2 separate regions of the Homo sapiens genome follow, and region 2 is linked to region 1. Evidence: promoter capture Hi-C in 16 types of primary human blood cells and fetal thymus (Javierre and others, 2016). All regions are on one chromosome and are shown on one strand. The core of a region is centred on a gene start or on the middle of the fragment in contact, and the rest is flanking DNA. Distances in the headings are between cores, read along the strand shown.

Evidence for each region. The method cuts DNA at HindIII sites, captures the fragments that hold promoters and counts their contacts. A CHiCAGO score of 5 or more calls a contact.
Region 2: a contact is called between a fragment that was not itself captured here and the fragment with the promoter of ZUP1 in region 1, in 1 of 17 cell types (naive B cells). The highest score is 5.1, in naive B cells.

Annotation. Positions count from the first base shown.
Region 1 is chr6:116,666,833-116,670,850 of GRCh38, reverse strand. It overlaps ZUP1 (zinc finger containing ubiquitin peptidase 1), which reads left to right and starts at 2,085. Exons shown (of 10, transcript NM_145062.3): 1 at 2,085-2,285; 2 at 3,644-4,018. The coding sequence starts at 3,659. RefSeq lists an enhancer at 2,061-2,250 and a silencer at 3,012-3,161. The HindIII fragment of the contact is 3,066 bases long and covers 1-2,329 here.
Region 2 is chr6:116,214,518-116,218,535 of GRCh38, reverse strand. All of the region lies in intron 6 of NT5DC1 (5'-nucleotidase domain containing 1), which reads right to left. It also overlaps a transcript of COL10A1 not described here. Among named protein-coding and RNA genes, the nearest start is that of TSPYL4, 38 kb to the left of the region's middle. The HindIII fragment of the contact is 705 bases long and covers 1,445-2,149 here.

The DNA.
Region 1 (4,018 bases), core at 836-3,335:
TGTATTTTTTTGGTTGAGACGGGTTTCTCCATGTTGCCCAGGCTGGTCTGGAATTCCTGGGCTCATGCGATCTGCCCGCCTCTGCCTCCCAAAGTGTTGGGATTACAGGCGTGAGCCACCGCGCCTAGCCAATTTTTAAAAACATACTATTTATCATCAGATAACATCACCCTCCTATTTAAATACCTCACTAGTTTTCTACCAGGTCCTACATGATTTGGCCCCTGTCTACAACCCTAACCTCATCTTGTAATCATTTTTCTCCTTACCACATTATGCTCTGGTCAAAAAGTGTTCTTTTTGCTCCAGCCTTAGGCCTTCGTTCTTGTTATTTTATCTGTCTGAAATGCTATTTCCCCTGTTGGTGTAAGGTTTGTTCATCAGCACACTCAACCCTTCATCAAGACCTTTTCTAAACATTCGTATCTCTATAATCCAGTTTTCTTTTCTTTCTTTCTTTCTTTTTTTTTTTTTTTTTTTGAGACTCAGTCTCAAAAATCTATTGCTCTGTCACTCAGGCTGGAGTGTAGTGGCACGATCTCAGCTCGCTGCAACCTACGCCTCCCGGGTTCAAGCAATTCTCCTGCCTCAGCCTCCCGAGTAGCTGGGATTACAGGCACCTGCCACCACGCCCAGCTAATTTTTGTATTTCTAGTAGAGACGGGCTTTCACCATGTTGGCCAGGCTGGTCTTGAACTCCTGACCTCAAATGATCTGCCCGCCTCGGCCTCCCAAAGTGCTGGGATTACATATGTGAGCCACTGAGCCTGGCCAATCCAGTTTTATTTTCTTCATAGCACTTATCATGATCAGTTAATTTACTTTTTATTTCCTCTACCTCACCAGCATGTAAGCCTCAAAAATCCTGAATTTTGTGTATTTTGATTACTGCTGCAGCTCCTGTTGCAAGCAAAACGCCTTTCTAATAGACACTCTTTAAATATTTGTTGAATGAAATAAAGCCTGAATGACAAGATATTTGTGATTTTGGGCTAACATGGTGGCTCACACTTTGGGAGGCCGAGATGGGAGGATCATTTGAGGCCAGGAGTTCGAGGCTGCGGTGAGCTATTTTAGCCACTGTGCTCTGGCCTGGGTGACAGAAAGAGTCCTCCTCTCTAAAAATACATACATACGGCCGGGCACGGTGGCTCACGCTTGTAATCCCAGCACTTTGGGAGGCCGAGGGGGGCGGATCACGAGGTCAGGAGATCGAGACCATCCGGGATAACACGGTGAAACCCCATCTCTACTAAAAATACAAAAAATTAGTCAGACGTGGTGGCGGGCGCCTGTAGTCCCAGCTACTTGGGAGGCTGAGGCAGGAGAATGGCGTGAACCCGGGAGGCGGAGCTTGCAGTGAGCAGAGATGGCACCACTGCACTCCAGCCTGGGCGACAGAGCAAGACTCCGTCTCAAAAAATATATATATATACATACATACATACATACAAACCAAGATATTTGTTATCTTGTAACCTTGAGGAAAGAACCTGGTATCCTTTACCTTCGGTGCATAGCTGGGAGCTTGATACCTAGCAGCATTATAAACCCTTTATTGATACTAAAATAGAGTGCTACTCAGCAGGCCCTAGTGTAGACTGCTATTTGCCCCAGGACCTGCCCTGTGAACTCATTCAGATTAAGTATGAATGACCTCAGAGCCCGGTTTTCTCTCCTAGCAATTGAGTGGCAGGAAACTCGATGGGAGAAGGAAAAACTCGGAAATGGGAGGAATGCAAAAATGACTACATCTCTCAGGAGATCGAGACCATCCTGGCTAACACGGTGAAACCCCGTCTCTACTAAAAATACAAAAAATTAGCCAGGCATGGTGGCGGGCGCCTGTAGTCCCAGCTACTCGGGAGGCTGAGGCAGGAGAATGGCGTGAACCCGGGAGGCGGAGCTTGCAGTGAGCCGAGATCGCGCACTGCCCTCCAGCCTGGGCAGCAGAGCGAGACTCCGTCTCAAAAAAAAAAAAAAAAAAAAAAGACTACATCTCCCAGAATGCACTGCATAGAGACCGGCGTGGAGCGGCGCATTCTGGGATTACTTCTTTTCCGTGGGAGTAAGGAAGTGCTTTTGAATGAGGTACTGAGGGCCAAGGTGTTGGAAGTTCCTAATTCTTTCCTCGGTTAACTGTGAAACTCTGCGTATTGGGAAGGCCTGGCCTCAGTCATCAGGCCAGGAGAGGTACTGGACGCCGCGCACGCACTCGTCTGCCAGCGAGGCCCAAAGGGGAAGCCTAGCGGAGCTCAGTGTGGCAGCTGCTGGCCTCTGGGCCGGTAAGAATTGATGGTCCCCTCCCTTATTCCCCAGGCCCAAAGCTTTGACCCAGTTAGTGCCTGCTAGTTTCGTGTGCCTGGCTTGTGCCTTTGGCGCGGAACGTTTGGGAGACTCGGCCTTGCGGTCTTCTGACCTCACCCACCACGTACCTAGCTTGGCACTGGGTCCTTCATGCCTCTCACTCGCTTCCTCTGAGGCACCTGGGTACTCTCTTGTCTCTTACCCGCTTAATCTGAGTCCATGTCCAAGTTCATCATTCTGTGTCTGACCGTGTCCCAGCCACCGGAAGAGAAGAAACTCCGGGTGTGACATTAATCCCACTGGGGGCTCGGGAGAACTGCCTTCTAAAATCAGAGACTGTATCCATTTGTCTGGAGAGAAATGAAAAAAATAAGGACAATGTAGGGAGGTATTTTAAAGGTAAATTTATTTAAATGAAGTGATAGTGTCATTACTTTTCCTGTTTGATTTTAAATAGTCTTTAGCTGAACGATGACCTGTAGTAGGAAGGTGGTGGCGAAGTGATTGCTTTTTTTAAAATTATTTTTTTAACACTTTTATGTCAGTAGTCAGTACTTTATTTGTCCATAAAATCCAAAAATAACTACCTTTGGATTTTACAGTAGTCTTTGACTGAACCTCAGAGAGATGAGATTCCTTACCCAAAATGATGAATCTGAAATTATTACCCAGTTCTCTTGACTCTGGAATAAGTGCTTTTTTCTACTATACCACTTCTGCTTTTATTCTTGGGGCTGAGAGTACAGGCTGTGGAGCACGACGGGGTTGGCATTTTGGCTTCCACCTTTTTCTGCTTGTGGTGACCTGTCTGAGCCAGAATTTCTTTATGTGTAGAGCGATAATAATAGTACTTAAATTACAATAATAGCACTTAAATAGCACTTGATACATGTAAGACTCTAAGTTTACAGTGTTAAACTCTACTTGTAAGATGTGTTTATTTACCTCCTCAATATAATCAGCTTCAGTATTCAGTATTTAGATATATCAGTTGATAAATAGGTTTCTTCTCTTCATTTTTTTCTTACCTGATTTATCTTACCTGGACAATTTTTTAAACGTTATTTTTTCTCCACCTTGGGCCAGAGACATTTTTTGAAATATTTTATTTTTAAAATTACTTGTATTCATTATTATTGCCTTTTTTTAAAAAAAAATAAATGAAATTTTGGTTGATATTTATAAATAAGTTTTTGTATTTGAGGAACAGTAAGTACATTGAAAACTTCTTCATCAAAATAATCCAGCGTTAAAGACCAAGTAATTGTCTCAAATCATTTTATGAAACACATTTTTTCTTCAAATCTTTGAAACCTAATGTTATGTTCTTTTCTAGCTACTTGTCAATACCATGCTTTCCTGTAATATTTGTGGTGAAACAGTAACCTCAGAACCAGACATGAAAGCTCACCTAATTGTTCACATGGAAAGTGAAATTATATGTCCATTTTGCAAGTTGTCAGGTGTGAATTATGATGAAATGTGTTTTCATATCGAAACAGCTCATTTTGAGCAGAATACACTTGAAAGAAACTTTGAGAGGATAAATACAGTACAATATGGAACTTCAGATAACAAGAAAGACAACACCCTACAGTGTGGAATGGAAGTTAATTCAAGTATTCTTTCAGGTTGTGCATCTAATCATCCAAAAAATTCAGCTCAAAACCTGACTAAAGATAGTACTTTAAAACATGAAGGCTTCTATTCA
Region 2 (4,018 bases), core at 548-3,047, 450 kb after region 1:
GATGAGTGGATGACTGCTAATTTCAGAGGCTGTGTCTCTCTCGTAACTTACTATACCTAAGGGAGTCAGATGTGAGATTATTTCACTTAGAAAAACAAAGCTTTTGTAGCAAGAAGAATTTTATGGGCTACGTAAGAAAAAAATTTATAGTGTGTAATGCTGAAAACATAGACTTGCTTTCAGAAAACTTGAGAAAAAATTATTTTTTCTTAGCTATATGTGCTTAGTGCCATCTAGTGATCAAAATATAAATTACCATTAAAAAGCTACTGTTAACATTTCCAAAGGAATAAAAATACAAGGCATACGCATTTAAATACAATATTTTAAATTTCTTACCTAGGTTAATTGCATTAGTATCTCAATTAATAATGTCTGATTCAAAAGAGTACCAATATAATAATTTAATCAGATAAAATTATTCTCTGAAGTCATAACAGAGATGTCCTTGTTTTGTTCATAAGCCAGACTGAAATGAACAAACTAAAAAAGACAAGCCCTGTACAAACACATACCCAATGGTAGATTATGAGTTGCTCTTACTACAAAAGATCACTGTCATGGAGAAAATATTTTTGCCCCCTTGTAACCTCCAATTATTAAAGGAATAGGAGACATAATTATACAAATAGAAACATCTTTTTATTGAAATAAGTCAAGGTATTAAATCAAATGAAGAGTTATGTTAAACATACTACAATGGATTATAATTGTCTATTAAATTATATCCCCCAAAGAAACTATAAACTTCTAAAGGCAAGAAATATATCTTTCTGCTTGGCATGGAGCAAGTATTCAACATATGAATACCTAAATTAGTGCAGGAGCAGACACAGGAACATTTATGTTTCCTTACATTCAAGGCAAGAGTATGATTAGTACCATATAGCCAAACTGAAGTGATAAAAATAATATTATTCATGTATGATTAAGGCAGCCTATGAAAAAAGTCATGTTTAATTATGATACTAATTAACACTGATTGAACAAAATGGAATTTAGACCTAAGATGGAAAGGAGTGGTATTGTTTGTTCTTAACTCACAAAGAAGCCTGTGTTTTCACTTAACCTCCAAAGGAATTCTATTTCACTGCCACTTTATGTAACTTATTTTCCTGGTTTTTCCACCACTCTTATATCCTTTGATGCTGATATTTTCTAGGTCCAGATGAGATTTAAAGGAAATTCTTTTAATAAGCTGATTCTAAGGAATAAAAGTTTAGCTCTCCTATGTTAAAAAAACTGGTTAATGTAGAGTGACAGAAATAATACCAAAGTGTTGCAACAGTCTGATATGCACATCAAATGGCCTGAATACACCAAACAGGATATAGGGACCTCTCGTGGTAAAAAAGTATAGTACAACCTGAATATTAAAAACAGTTTTTTTCAGTTTAACAGACAATTGTGCCACATCACTATTTCTATCATCACTGAATAAGCTTTTTCTTGTTAACTGTATCACTACTGTTTGCATGATTTTTGGCCAGAATTTTCAAAGCTGCTGTCCGAGGGGACTAGAGATGCCAGGATGCTAACACTTCCATGGTCAGCCTCCAAATAAGGTCTGTTGTTTCCATTGCAGAATATAATTTAGAAGAGATTTAAATATTTACAACCTTTACAAGTTATATAAGAGCACGCTAGTGAACAGCTAAAATGCCTAGCGATGAACTGTTTAAATGTACTTGCTGTAGAGATGATATAATTAATTTTCTTAAAAGAAGAAACTTCTTTGCTAAGAGACACTGAAATATTTGTTGGAGGATAAAAGAGATAAATTTATTTTGTTTATTTATAGGTGGCAAAAAATAAAATTAAAATGTATTAAAACAGATTTGCTGTTTATATAACAAAATATATGGTTTATATCTAATATTTTATAATTAAATAAATAAATCTAGAATATCTAGATTGTGTAAAGTGAAAATCTATATGCTAAACATAATACTTGGAAAGTCTCTCAAATAAAAGCTGGGAAATGAAGTACAGAATATGAGAGAAAAACATAATATACAAAATTTACATTTTAACAGTATCTGATTTCCAGATCTGTAATTTAATTTGCATATCCCGGCCCTACTCCAAAAATTCTGATTTAATTGTTTTGGGGTAGGGCCACAACATTGGTATTTTTTTTTTTAAAGCTTCCCAGGTAGTCCTAATGTGCTACCAGGATTAAGACTTGTTGACCTAAAATATAAAATATAAAATATAAAAACCAGAATTCTTACTATTATTTTCTGTGTATTTTGCCTGCTTCATTGGAAATCACAGGCTCTCAGAGGGCAGGGACTTTTGAATTTTATAGTATCTTTATTACCTAACATATAGCCTTGTACATGTTAGGTAATCAACAAATAATAACTGTTGCCAATTATCTTAAATGTCATTGTGGTTGATGATCTTTAAAGTGTTTACTCTTACACTATACCAATTAAGCATGGTACTCTAGATTTAGTTAAGTATTGTGAATACAGAATGATGGATTTCATTCCTCCTTTGAAAGGAGGATTCCTGGAAAAAGTGTATATTATGGAATTCTTTGAAAGAAAAATTATTCGAACAGTTTAAATGAGTATAGACAAGCCAAACAGACTCCTTTATCTCTCCAAAGCCATCAAACTGCCTGACTCTGTGCTGAATACAGTCTATAAATATGATTTTGGGTCGGCAGTATTTTAAAATTTTTGGATGTTAATGTCCTTGGACAGTATTACATATGTATTGTAATAGTTTACCCACAATCCCACCACGCCATATTGTCTGCACTTGGCCTAGTCAACTCCCCTGTTGCCATCAGTTTACAACCTATTTTTTCTCCTATGATATCAGAATGAATCATTCTAAAAGAACCTAGTTTCCTCTTTCCGACATGGTTACTGGACAGACAACGTAAATGTGGAGAGAGGTTTTTGAAGGTCTGCCTGGTTTTATTCAAAATATAACAAATCCTTTAATGAGGACGCTGACAGCTGGGAGGGTCAGCAGATGGATCTGATGACAGAATCACATACAATAATATCTGGACAGGCTGTAAAGTCGACAAGGTGACTCAGTGAGGTACAATTTCATAGGGAGAGATGAAATCTTACCAGGTTGAAAGCTCAGCCATACAGGCATAACATTGGAGGAGCTGTTGTTTGTCAGCAACTTCAAAATATAGAGCTTACAGTCAGCTTAGGCTCCACAGTATAGACAAAGTAAAATAAAAAGTTTGGAGACCATGTTTTGCAATTTATTTAGTTACTACTATGTACTTTTGATATCATGTTTCTGGAAAAATATTTCTGCTCCAGAAAGCTGGGTAAGAAGCATGTGTCCTCCTTTATAACCCTAGGCATCTTATCTTCATGTGCTCCGTATTATCCAATTAGGTGATTAGATTGTAGAGCTACATTAATATCAGTACAATGTTCAGAACCAGGAAAGCAATAATTTCCACTCTTTTAATCATTTTCAGACTAAACCTTGATAACTGGGTTCTATTCTGGATGACACTTTTCACAAGAAAGTGTGTCCAGAGAATGATGATGTTAACAATTCCTATGCCCCCCACCCTAGAGACCTCTGGTGGAGCCCCAGAGATACACACTGGCCAATCAGACATTTACAAACCTGTGAAACAGGCAGCTTCAAAGGACCGTTTAATCTTAGAGTTGCTTGAGTCTATGCCTCCATGGTGATGTCCAGCCAGATAACTCTTTTTTTTTTTATTATACTTTAAGTTTTAGGGTACATGTGCACAACACAGATAACTCTTTAGCCACAATGAACACCCATTTCCACAGTGTTTCTCCTCCTCTAAAATGTCTTTGCATTTTGAATATGATATTTCAAAAACAGACTTTTGGTAGAGTAGTGGGTCTCAAAATGAAGGTAAATTAGAATTATCCAGAATGCTTTCAAAAATACTCCTAGAGTTTCTGATTCAGTAGGTTTGGGGTGGGGCCTGAAGATGTGCATTTCTAACAATTTCTCAGGTCAACTGACAGTCCAAGAACCACACTTTGAGAAT